Linked DNA regions of Homo sapiens: region 2 is linked to region 1. The links are contacts of gene promoters, found by promoter capture Hi-C in blood cells and fetal thymus (Javierre and others, 2016). All regions are on one chromosome and are shown on one strand. The core of a region is centred on a gene start or on the middle of the fragment in contact, and the rest is flanking DNA. Distances in the headings are between cores, read along the strand shown. Region 1 holds the start of GPR84 (G protein-coupled receptor 84). Region 2 overlaps CBX5 (chromobox 5).

Region 1 (6,434 bases), core at 2,103-4,602:
GTTTAAAACTGAATTCATTATTTACCCCTTTCCCTAAGCCTGCTCCTCCTCCCACATTTCCTATCTTATTAAGAGCACCACCATCTGTCTGGAAAACAGAAAGTTATCCTAGTTCCTCCTTCTTCCTAACTCTTCATCCAATGAATCACTAAATAAGTCCTATTTGACCTCCTAACAACCTATGGATCCTTATCATTCCTCCATTCCCACAACCACTGCCCTAACCAGGACTGGCTCCATAATTTGTGGGACCCAGTGCAAAATGAAAAAGCAGAGCCCCTTATTCAAAAAGTATAGTATTAAGAATTTAAAAACAGTGATTGACGAGCATTTAACCAAGCACCAGGCCCTTCAAACTGCAAGGCCCTATGCAGTTGTACAGGTGGTCTGGCCCTAACTTAGGGCCATTCTATCTCTCGTCTGAACTAGTGCCTCTTTACCCATTTCGCTCACTCCCAGGCTGCACGCCTTCATTCTTTACTCACAGCAATCTAAGTGCAAATCTCACCAACTCCTTCAGCATGAAACCAGCTCCTTAGCACGATACACAAGGTCCCCCTTGACCCTGCCTGCTCAACTCTCCAAGCTCTTCTCTGTTGTTCTCTACCTCATGCCCTTTGTTGGCTTCTACCTGAACCTCTGCGCCTCTACACATACTGTTCTCTTTGTCTAGAATGTCCCTCTACTTATCTCCCAAAAAACTCTCCTGTTCATCATTCAGAATGCAGCTCAGTAACCTCTCTGTGAACCCTTTCCTCACCTCCTACTTAATAGTATGCTCCTTTTCTCTAAGCCTCTGATATATCATTCTGGGTTGTTTTGTTTTGTTTTGTTTTGTTTTTTGAGAAAGAGTTTTTGCTCTGTTGCCCAGGCTGGGGTGCAGTGGTGCAACCTCGGCTCACTGCAACCTCCGCCTCCTGGGTTCAAGCGATTCTCCTGTCTCAGCCTCCCAAGTAGCCAGGATTACAGGTGCGCACCACCACGCCTGGCTAATTTTTGTATTTTTAGTAGAGACGGGGTTTCATCATATTGGCCAGGCTGGTCTCGAACTCTTGACCTCAAGTGATCTGCCCGCCTTGGTCTCCCAAAGTGCTGGGATTACAGGTGTGAGCCACTGCACCCAGCCATGTATTTTTTGTTTGTTTTTTGTTTGTTTTTGAGACGGAGTCTCGCACTGTCACCTGGGCTGAAGTGCAGTGGCGCGATCTCGGCTCACTGCAACCTCCACCTCCTAGGTTCAAGAGATTCTCCTGCCTCAGTCTCCCAAGTAGCTGGCATTACAGGTGCCTGCCACCACACCCAGCTAATTTTTTGTATTTTTAGTAGAGACGGGGTTTCATCATATTGGCCAGGCTGGTCTTGAACTCCTGACCTCAAGTGATCTGCCCGCCTTGGCCTGCCAAAGTGCTGGGATTACAGGTGTGAGCCACTGCACCCAGCGATGTATTTTTTGTTTGTTTTTTGTTTGTTTGTTTTTGAGACGGAGTCTCACACTGTCGCCCGGGCTGAGGTGCAGTGGCACCATCTCGACTCATTGCAACCTCTACCTCCTAGGTTCAAGCGATTCTCCTGCCTCAGCCTCCCAAGTACCTGGGATTACAGGCGCCTGCCACCACGCCCAGCTAATTTTTTGTATTTTTAGTAGAGACGGGGTTTCACTATGTTGGCCAGGCTAGTCTCGAACACCTGACCTCATGATCCACCTGCCTCGGCCTCCCAAAGTGCTGGCATTAGAGGCATGAGCCACTGCGCCCAGCCTGTTAGTTTGTTTTTCTAATTTTTCAGAGACAACGTCCTGCTGTGTCACCCAGGCTGGAGTATAGTGGCACAATCTTTCTCACTGTAGTCTTGACCTCCCAGACTCAAATGATCCTCCCACCTCAGCCTCCCCAGTAGCTGGGACTACAGGTGCACATCACCACAGCTGGCTATTTTTTTTTTTATTGTAAAGACAGGGTCTCACTATGTTGCCCAGGCTGGTCTTAAACTCCTGACCTGAAGTCATCCTCCCAGCTCAGCCTCCCAAAGCATTGGGATTACAGGCATGAGCCTCCAAGCCAGGCCTATATAGTATTTTAAAGCAAGCCTCAGCAAACTTTTTCTCAAAGGGCCTGATTATAAATATTTTAAACTGTGTTAATCAAGAGATAAAACTGAGGATATTACATAGGCACTTATATAACAATTTAAAATATAACCATTTTTATTTTACTTACTTATTTATTTATTATTTTATTTTTTGAGACGGAGTCTTGCTCTGTCATCCAGGCTGGAGTGCAGTGGTGCAATGTGATCTTGGCTAACTGCAAGCAACCTCCGCCTCCCGGGTTCAAGCGATTCTCTTGCCTCAGCCTCCCTAGTAGCTGGGATTACAGGCGCACCCATCACGCCTGGCTAATTTTTGTATTTTTAGTAGAGACGGGGTTTTACCATGTTGGCCAGGCTGGTCTCGAACTCCTGACCTCAAGTGATCTGCCCTCCTTGGCCTCCCAAAATGTTGGGATAATGGGCGTGAGCCACTGCACCTGGCCTAAAATATAACCATTTTTAAATGGAAAAAAAACATGATTGGGTCACAGGCTATACAAAAACAGCAGACTAGATTTGGCCCATAGGGTGAAGTTTACTCACCCTTGCTCTGGAGAATCGATTAAGCATTTGCATATTTATGTATCTGTCTCCCCTAGTAGACTATGCACAAGGCCATATATCAGACGTTCTTGTATCCCCAGTGTCTAGATCAGAGTCTGGTGTATAGTAGGCACTCAGTACTAAGTTGTTGGGTAAATGGATAAATGAATGATTGAACAGGACCCTGATCCCTTGAGGAGAATGAAACCAGAATTCTGGATGCCTCATTCCCCACTTTTCTTCATCTGACTTGGTTTCTCAAATGTGCTAGGGTGTCACATGGGTCCCTCTGACTTGAACCATGTCTAAGCCGTGGAGACAAGAAAGGTAGTGCTCCTCTGAAACAAACCCAAGGCTTCTGGGGGTACCTAAAGTTGCTCCTGGAACTTGGTCTTATCTTTTGGCCCTTTGAGGAGTGGCCCAAATGTTCTGATGCTCTGACTCCGTGCCCTAGCAATTCTTGGCAATGATCTTACAGATGAGTTCTGCCATGCAAAGAGGGGAAGAAAACAGAGTTTGGGTTTCAGGAAGGAGAAAGGAAGAGTGAAACCACTCTGAGGTAAGTAGCGGGGGACTTTCAACAGAGAAGCCTAGATTTCACTAGCCGAAGCAAAATGAGTAGGACCGGAGGTGGTGAAGGAAGTGGCTGGGATTGGGTAATGGGGGAGTTTCTTATTCTTTCAGTGGACTATAATAGGATACATAAGAGCAGGATGTCTCCTGCTTGAAGCCTAACTGTCCACCAGAAAGGACTGCTCTTTGGGTGAGTTGAACTTCTTCCATTATAGAAAGAATTGAAGGCTGAGAAACTCAGGTAAGCACTTTTGTTGTGGGTATACTTTTACCTTCTTGGTCTCCTCATCTCCCAGGTGGTAACAAACAGAAATGACTAAAGCCTATATGTGTGTGTAGTGGAAAGGAGCAGAGGGAACTGAATACAGAGAGGATCCTGAATACACGATGCTGAATAGAGAGAGGGGACTCCTGGGGGTCTTTGGGGATGGGGAAGGAATTAAAAAAGTTGGAGGGCACTGGGTTTACTGAGAGCAGCGGGATGGATATAGAAGAGGACTGAGGTTTGGAGCAGAATAAGACTAAGATATTTAGGCAAGAGATATTTAGATAAAAACTTGGGGAAATATTTGAGAATGGGAAAGGACTAAGAGAACCTAAGGAGAGAGTTAGGGATCTTGAGATGAAGAGGCCTGGGAATGGTTCAGGAGGATACTGAATTAAGGTGAGGTCCAGGAACAGTTTAGATGTCCAGGGTCCCAGAACTGTTCAAGAGATCTAAGTTGAATGCTAGGTTCTGATTCCCTCTTCCTCTTCCACCCTCTGCCTCTTTAGCCTCTATCATGTGGAACAGCTCTGACGCCAACTTCTCCTGCTACCATGAGTCTGTGCTGGGCTATCGTTATGTTGCAGTTAGCTGGGGGGTGGTGGTGGCTGTGACAGGCACCGTGGGCAATGTGCTCACCCTACTGGCCTTGGCCATCCAGCCCAAGCTCCGTACCCGATTCAACCTGCTCATAGCCAACCTCACACTGGCTGATCTCCTCTACTGCACGCTCCTTCAGCCCTTCTCTGTGGACACCTACCTCCACCTGCACTGGCGCACCGGTGCCACCTTCTGCAGGGTATTTGGGCTCCTCCTTTTTGCCTCCAATTCTGTCTCCATCCTGACCCTCTGCCTCATCGCACTGGGACGCTACCTCCTCATTGCCCACCCTAAGCTTTTTCCCCAAGTTTTCAGTGCCAAGGGGATAGTGCTGGCACTGGTGAGCACCTGGGTTGTGGGCGTGGCCAGCTTTGCTCCCCTCTGGCCTATTTATATCCTGGTACCTGTAGTCTGCACCTGCAGCTTTGACCGCATCCGAGGCCGGCCTTACACCACCATCCTCATGGGCATCTACTTTGTGCTTGGGCTCAGCAGTGTTGGCATCTTCTATTGCCTCATCCACCGCCAGGTCAAACGAGCAGCACAGGCACTGGACCAATACAAGTTGCGACAGGCAAGCATCCACTCCAACCATGTGGCCAGGACTGATGAGGCCATGCCTGGTCGTTTCCAGGAGCTGGACAGCAGGTTAGCATCAGGAGGACCCAGTGAGGGGATTTCATCTGAGCCAGTCAGTGCTGCCACCACCCAGACCCTGGAAGGGGACTCATCAGAAGTGGGAGACCAGATCAACAGCAAGAGAGCTAAGCAGATGGCAGAGAAAAGCCCTCCAGAAGCATCTGCCAAAGCCCAGCCAATTAAAGGAGCCAGAAGAGCTCCGGATTCTTCATCGGAATTTGGGAAGGTGACTCGAATGTGTTTTGCTGTGTTCCTCTGCTTTGCCCTGAGCTACATCCCCTTCTTGCTGCTCAACATTCTGGATGCCAGAGTCCAGGCTCCCCGGGTGGTCCACATGCTTGCTGCCAACCTCACCTGGCTCAATGGTTGCATCAACCCTGTGCTCTATGCAGCCATGAACCGCCAATTCCGCCAAGCATATGGCTCCATTTTAAAAAGAGGGCCCCGGAGTTTCCATAGGCTCCATTAGAACTGTGACCCTAGTCACCAGAATTCAGGACTGTCTCCTCCAGGACCAAAGTGGCCAGGTAATAGGAGAATAGGTGAAATAACACATGTGGGCATTTTCACAACAATCTCTCCCCAGCCTCCCAAATCAAGTCTCTCCATCACTTGATCAATGTTTCAGCCCTAGACTGCCCAAGGAGTATTATTAATTATTAATAAATGAATTCTGTGCTTTTAATGCTCAGGTGTGGTCTCTGGGGAAGAAGGAAACAGGTCACGGTTAGGCTCAGGGGCCAGGCTAGGAGGAGACCATACTATTCCATCCCTCCTGCATGACGAAATCCTGTCACCATGTGCATGCTCACACATATCCCTAAAGCACCTGTGGCCACCAGGAGCTGGAACCTAATACCTAAGGATTCAGGGGTACCTAGGTCAAAGCAGGAGCAGGAAGCAGCTGGCCTGGGACATAGCCTTTAGAAGAGGGGTTTCTAGGTAATAAAACATGTGAGGTGATTTAAGAGGATTAGCCTGCCTTTTTGTTTAATTTCCCAGAAATGGCCTCTGCCCCTAACCACTGCTGCCAGGATCCGCCATCCCTACAAACAAGTTTATTCAGCTCAAAAAAGTTTTATAATCCAGCTTTGATATCTACTCCAGTGGGACCAGTCCCCCAGCCCTCACTCTGTGCGAAGGGAATGGTCATGGAGGAGGACTCCTTGGTCTGTAGAAATGGAACTGAGCTTAGTTAAGGCAAAGGCAGAAAAAGGTTCCAGCTGCCCTGGCAGGGTCCTGCCCATGGGGCTAATTCACCTGAGTCCCAGGCCCTCAGTTGCCTTGCATTTGTCATCTGGACTTATGAAAGCAAGAGAACAGGCCTGGTGGGGTGTCTCACACTTGTAATCCTAGCACTTTGGGAGGCGGAGGTGGGCAGATCACCTAAGGTCAGGAGTTCAAGACCAGCCTGGCCAACGTGGTGAAACCCCGTCTCTACTAAAATACAAAAATTATGGGCCAGGCACGGTGGCTCATGCCTGTAATCCCAGCACTGTGGGAGGCAGAGGCAGGTGGATCACCTGAGGTCAGGAGTTCGAGACCAGCCTGACCAACACAGAGAAACCCCATCTCTACTAAAAATAGAAAAATTAGCCCGGCATGGTGGCGCATGCCTGTGATCCCAGCTACTCAGAAGGCTGAGGCAGGAGAATCGCTTGAACCCGGGAGGTGGAGGGTACAGTGAGCCGAGATCACGCCATTGCACTCCAGCCTGGGCAACAAG
Region 2 (6,434 bases), core at 2,052-4,551, 130 kb after region 1:
GATTGCTTTCTAGTTTATCAACTGCATTTATATTTGCTTTTCTGTTCATGGAAAATCCTTTATTTGCTGGGGTTTTTTGTTTGTTTGTTTGTTTTTCCCACTTACAGCAAGTAAAAGTGGTCTGAGGTTATCCTTGTTTTTCTTCGCGGTTTGCCATGTGTGAAAGTAGATTTCCTGCTATTGATATATTCTCATTATAGACAGAATAGTGGAGAACAGTGTTGCCATGGACAAAATCCAGTTTTGGTCCACTCTGGGGAGCATTTGGACCTGTGGTGCTTCTAACAATTAAAAGTCTAGATGGTCCTTGACTGTCCCCCAGCCATACTGCATACTACTTTGTGCATTCTACTTTGTGTCATTAATGAAAGATTGGTTCTGTCCCTGTAACTTAGGCATTTATTATTCTTAACTCTTCATTCCTGTTCTGTAGCCACCCAGCAGTCCATTTTCCCTATGTTCAGGCCAAACCACAGGGCATTGGGGAAGGTTTTTGGGATTTTCTTATTGAGATTTTGTTGAATCTGTAGTTTACCCCAGCTTTCCTAAGGTACAGTGAGGGGTTGGAGGGATCTGTGTTTGGCCCGGGGAGCAATTGTCTCTACCTTAAGGTTCAGTTTTGAGGGCATAAAATACTACTTTGCAATGTCATGAGAACACCGTTAGATCTGAAATGTGGAAATGGTTTCTCACAATTTAAAGGAAAAACCCACTTTGCACCCATGATCCCATCATTTTGGTTGAGATTTTAGAATAAAAAATATAGTGTTGAGATCCGTACTTTTGTAATCAGACCACCAAGCATGCCTGTGGCAAGGCAGAGAGGAAAGGTCTGGAGCCAGTGTATTGCAGTTTCATGCTACCTTTACCTGCTAATCATAAAAATTATGTTTTCAAAAGTAGATGATACTAGCCTTACACCCAAAAACATGTTCTGAATTAGATGCCCCCTCACCCAATTTTTATTAAGCTTTCTAAATTCCAGCCACATTGCTGTACATCAACATTGGTTTCATTCAACAGACATTTTTTTGGCCTGAAGATACAAGGTTCAGAAAGAGGCCATCCCTGCCCTCAAATAACTTTCATACTGGTGTATGATGAACTGACCATTAATAGTTTAAGTGCTTACAAGCTATGTTTCTGTTCAAAAAAAAAATAGTTTGGTATAATAAATGCTATAAACCAATACACATTTCTGACTTGGGGGCAGAGACAGACTGGCTGATGTTGTATAGTTTGTAGCCCTGGAGTAAGAAGTTGACATTAATTTCGGCCTATATGTGGAAAAGACCTATAACATTGGGTGAACTGAGCCAGCTGGCCATAGAACACAAGAACATATTCCAGGAAATAAATATAGCTGGAGGGTTGGAAATGCTGTTATTACTGAGAGAGAAAACAGGTGAGTTGGGATTGAGAACTCCTGATTTTCATCCCTGGTTTAGATTCTTGGCCAAAGTAGTGGTAGAGTTAATCTTTGCTTGTGGAAAGCATTAACTATGTTGCAGATTCAGTTGTGTTACATTATTGTGGGTTCTATAACAACATATTCCTCATGGACACTTTACCAGAGTTGCTCACACCTTTTTCAATTTCTCATCCCTTTTGGAGGAATGAACATGAGACTTAACTGCCTTTAAGCCTAAAACGGACATGCTTTCCAATGACAAGAGATTTTCTAAAGAGAAGTCTTGGAGCACATCTGTTAATACCTGAGCATCTACTCTGAGCAGTGCAGTTTTATTCAATACTGGAGAGAGGGTGATTTCTTTTTTTTTGAGACGGAGTCTTGCTCTGTCTCCCAGGCTGGAGTGCAGTGGCGCAATCTCGGCTCACTGCAAGCTCCACCTCCCGGGTTCACGCCATTCTCCTGCCTCAGCCTCCCGAGGAGCTGGGACTACAGGCGCCGGCCACCACGCCCGGCTAATTTTTTGTATTTTTAGTAGAGACGGGGTTTCACCTTGTTAGCCAGGATGGTCTCAATCTCCTGACCTCATGATCCACCCACCTCGGCCTCCCAGAGTGCTGGGATTACAGGCGTGAGCCACCGCCGGGCCGAGAGGGTGATTTCTAAGCAGAGAATTGTATCAGTTATGTGGAAACCTTTGCCAGAAATACATATACCTTGTATATTAAATCTGAGTCTCAGATTTAATCATCGAAGCGTAGCTGGGTTAAGAAACAGTCTGATCGTAAGGATGTTGTCGATTCTGACCCATGGATGACCACAAGAAAAAGATATTTATTTCTGCCTGGATAATTGAGAGTTGACTAACTTTGGAAGTCAGAATTCCCAGGAATTAGAGTAACTGCTCTGGAAAGTTAAAGTGTGAAGTTTTTTAGATAGTTTCATAAAAACAATTCTGGTTTCTTTTTGCTTGTGCTGACTTTCTTGGATTTTAATCTACCTCATCTTGTCTTTTTAGAGTTACTTCAACTTGTCACTTTAACATTGTGCTTGACTTTGGTTGTTTTCTAAGATGGAATTTTTCCTGTTCATTGACAGCTTGTTCTCTTGCCTTTTCATTCTGATCCTCATTTCATCTAACATCATCTCATATTGCTCCTCTGTCAAGAGAAATGTTTTAAAATAGTTTAAAGTCTTGTTTTATGGGAAGAAAGTGATCCTCCAATGCTATTTGTTTCTGAGGTCAGTAAGAGAAGGAGTTAAAACAAGGCAGTGGGGAAGGGAATGAATCCTGCACTGGAGGCAAAAGCTGACAAGGAAAGAGCCATTAATTAAGACAATTTCAAAGTCAACTGATTGTGATCATTAATGTCACAATAGATCAAAACCTAATTATCACAGCCTAGGTAAGAGCCATCAGTATTAATCGGAAAATCTAATAGGAAACTATTATCAAGAAATTAGGCCAAATTGAATGCAGTGAACTTTTTATCTTGGCATTCTCTATTTTTTTGTGATGTCCCCTGGCATTGGCAGGTGTGACCCTAACAGTCGATTCAAGGCCAAGTGGTCAGTTTGTCAGCCTTTTTTAAGGGATTTCTTTTTATTTTTAGGAATTCCAAACAGAGTTAACCTAAACTGTCATTGCCAAAAGATCAGTCTTAAACTTTCTTAGCACCTGTACCTGTTTAATGTGATCAGCTATCAGTGAGGAAAAAAAAAAAAATCTATTTAGGTCTTGGAATGGTTCCTGTACCTAGAGTATCCATATTGAACCTTTTTTTTTTTTTTTTTTTTTTTTTTTTGAGATGGAAACTTGCTCTTTTGCCCAGGCTGGAGTGCAGTGGCGTGATCTTGGCTCACTGCAACCTCCGCCTCCCGGGTTCAAGCAGTTCTCTGCCTCAGCCTCCTGAGCAGCTGGGATTATAGGCGCCTGCCACCATGCCCGGCTAATTTTTGTATTTTTAGTAGAGACAGGGTTCACCATCTTGGCCGTGCTGGTCTTGAACTCCTGACCTTGTGATCCGCCTGCCTCGGCCACTCAAAGTGCTGGGATTGCAGGCGTGAGCCAGCACCCGGCCACAGTATCTTTATTACAGCTCACTGCAGCCTCAATCTCCTGGGCTCAAATGATCCTCCTGCCTCAGCCTCCCAAGCAGCTGGGACTACAGGCGCACACCACGGTGTCTGGCTAATTTTATTATTTAAAAAATGTTTTGTAGAGACAGTCTCCCTGTGTTGCCCAGGCTGGTCTCCAACTCGTGAGCTCAAGTGATCCACGTGCCTCAGCCTCCCAAAGTGCTGGGATTACAAGCATAAGCCACCGCACCCGGCCCCTAGTGAACATTTTACTGTATGTGTTGATAAATCATCTTTTGAGTTTCTGTTGTATGTGGGGACTTCCTACACTGGCTGCTGTGAAGAGGTATGGAAGAAAGGAGAGGCTTTCTGCCTAGAAATTCTTTGAGAACACCTGAAAAGACAGTTTAATCATGTCACAACACTCTTAAGGCTCAAGTCAGTGTTCTGGTTTCCGGTAGCTTTAGGATTGGATTCTAAACGAGGGCTGGTGGTGAGTTTGGTGTTTGTCTCGTGTCACCCTCACCCCTCACCTCCTCAGTTTAGGATAAGAGACATAATGATTTCTACCAGAATCCAAAGTAAATCCAAAGGGGGAGAAAAGACATAACTGTTTTTTCTTCTACCTTTTTTTTGTTAAAGAGTTACATCTCTCACAGGAGGAAAGAATTCAAGAGTCTATATGATTAGTTACAGAGAATATTTTCATCCCCTCTCCCTGAATAGAAAAGCAGGGGTCACCATTTGTATCCTTACCCTTGAGGTGTTTTTGAAGATGCTGTAACTCTTGAAGTTGAGCTGAGGCAGAAAGGTTGGAAAAATGCAGCCCTCTGGGTATTGTGGGGAGGGATGTGATGTAGTAAGAGGGTGTTTTGTGGTGCTAGGATTCCCACGCCACCAACTTGCAGCTTTATAAGAGCGCTACCAAGAACCACCACTGGGGAAAAGGTTCTTATTCATTGTTTCTGTTGGAATGTGATCTTGCTTTCTGGATTTTAGGAATTCAGGTTACTCAGTATAAAACTCTGAGAAATCAGTGTGACTTAGTCCTTCACCTCCTAAGATAAAGTGAATATTTCTTTACAAAATAATTCATGTCCTTAATGTTAAAGATGTAATTTTATTTTCAAAACATCTATAACATGACTTTCAGAAGCAGTTCATTTTTCCAAGATTCCTCACATTATACTAGATAAATAATAGGCCCTCAGTTAATACCCTTCAGTTATTGAATTAATCTAGTTTGTGGAATGAGGTGTATCCTGCCAACTTCCCTCTGCTCCCAAGTACACTCTGAGAGGTAAAATGCTCTGGGAAATGGAACAAGAATCGAGTGGATGCTGACTCTGTGTGCCCACCTCCTCAACTGATTGATAATGGTTGACCTTGGGCAAGTCACTTCTTTCAATGCCTCAGTTCCCCATCTGTCAAATGGGGTTAATAATACTGACCTACCTCACAGGGGTGTTGTTGTGAGGCATTGTAAATCAAAGTTAATAGAATACTTCAGGGTCCTCTGTGGAGGATGTCTTGAGCCAGAGTTTAAGCCTGACACACAGGCTTTGGTCCTCACTGAGCTGTCTCCAAGACTGGAACTACTTAGTGACTCGGCAAATTTTCTGCCCCCCACCCCTCATCAAAGCTGCTAGTTCAGATGTTGACAGTGTTTTCATGAATGTTGGAATCTTACTAGTCCAGACTTACTTAGGATGTTGTTGGGGAAGGCACTTGGGATTTTCTGTGTCTTGCATTCACAGAGGGAGGCCATTTCAGATTCAAGAGCATTGGATTAGGGAATCGTGAGGCAGGGATGCTACTGCGTATTTCTCTCTGCAGGTTGGGGATTAAAGTTCCTTTCCCCATGGGTTTGAAGCAGACTCAGACTGTCTCAGGATCAAAGCAACCCTCAATGGTTTTGATTTATGTCATTGCTTACCACTCCCCAACCAATCCCAGGACAGCTGGGTCACTGTACCCCTTTGTGGTATCTGTACCTGGGCCTCTCCTTCCTCATAGGGACCAGCTGATTGAATAAATGTGACCACCTTATTTCCACCCCCCACCCCCAAAAGCTACATTGGAATTATTTTTCCTAGAAATGTGTATAACACTCAGAATTGGGCATTGATCCTTAAAGCTTCATCCCATTCACCGTATTCAACATCTGTCATCTCTTAGTGTCTGCAGTCTGAACCTAACCTTGACCTTTTTTCCCTCTGGTTTGAGAAAACTTTGGACACTATTTCTACTTGGCCAGGTGTGGGCTCAAGAGCCTTACTCTTTCCATCTCAGTTTAGGGGCGCAGCCAGCTCCTCTTCCCAATAGGGCTCTTTCTGCTTTCCCTCTCCTTGGCCCTAGATTTGTAATCCATGAAAAAGCACAAGGTCCTGGCTCCTTGCGGTCACATTCTGGTTCTCTGTGTTTTGTGGACTCTGCTCTCACTGTTCACCCAGCACTAGCAGTACCAGATGGTTCTGTGGAGTCCTGGGGAATGGAGAGAGCACAGTCTGACTCCCTGCCAAGTAGCCAGGAGTTGACTTGCCCATGGTCCGCTGGCTTTCCCACCACTTCCTACAGGATGGGATCTAAGAGACTCAAGAGCTGGGTTTCTTTCAGCACTCTGTACTGTCCCAAATAGCAAACAAATCACTTTGTAGCCAGATTTCTGAATGGAAATGAGAAATTGAATTCTCCATGGACTTTTAGGTTTATGGGGGAGTTTTAGCTGTGTTTCTTGGTTTTATTTCAGCCAAACATGTCTGCTTTTGATTTTTTTTTTAAAGTATAAGTGGTCTATATATATGTTCACCTTTTAAATGTAAATGTTTAAAAAGTAAGCATTTATGTGTTTCCATAACTGACATCTGATGCAGACCTCATTCTCTCCCCCTCTTCTACCCTCCTCTTTTCCCCCTTTTCATACTCTTGTATTGGTTCTAATAAA

The links. Contacts are between HindIII fragments. The CHiCAGO score rates a contact against its expected background, and 5 or more counts as called.
Region 2: a fragment that was not itself captured here is called in contact with the fragment with the promoter of GPR84 in region 1 in 12 of 17 cell types (neutrophils, megakaryocytes, erythroblasts and 9 more); the score reaches 9.8 in neutrophils.

Annotation. Positions count from the first base shown.
Region 1 is chr12:54,361,404-54,367,837 of GRCh38, reverse strand. It overlaps GPR84 (G protein-coupled receptor 84), which reads left to right and starts at 3,352. Exons shown (of 2, transcript NM_020370.3): 1 at 3,352-3,445; 2 at 3,979-5,393. The coding sequence starts at 3,987. The coding sequence ends at 5,177. The region is part of intron 1 of GPR84-AS1 (GPR84, ZNF385A, ITGA5 and GTSF1 antisense RNA 1); the gene reads right to left. RefSeq lists an enhancer at 3,334-3,423. The HindIII fragment of the contact is 7,569 bases long and covers 1-4,366 here.
Region 2 is chr12:54,230,961-54,237,394 of GRCh38, reverse strand. It overlaps CBX5 (chromobox 5), which reads left to right. Exons shown (of 5, transcript NM_012117.3): 5 at 1-6,434. It overlaps MIR3198-2 (microRNA 3198-2), which reads left to right and starts at 5,919; the gene lies at 5,919-5,998. The HindIII fragment of the contact is 4,657 bases long and covers 973-5,629 here.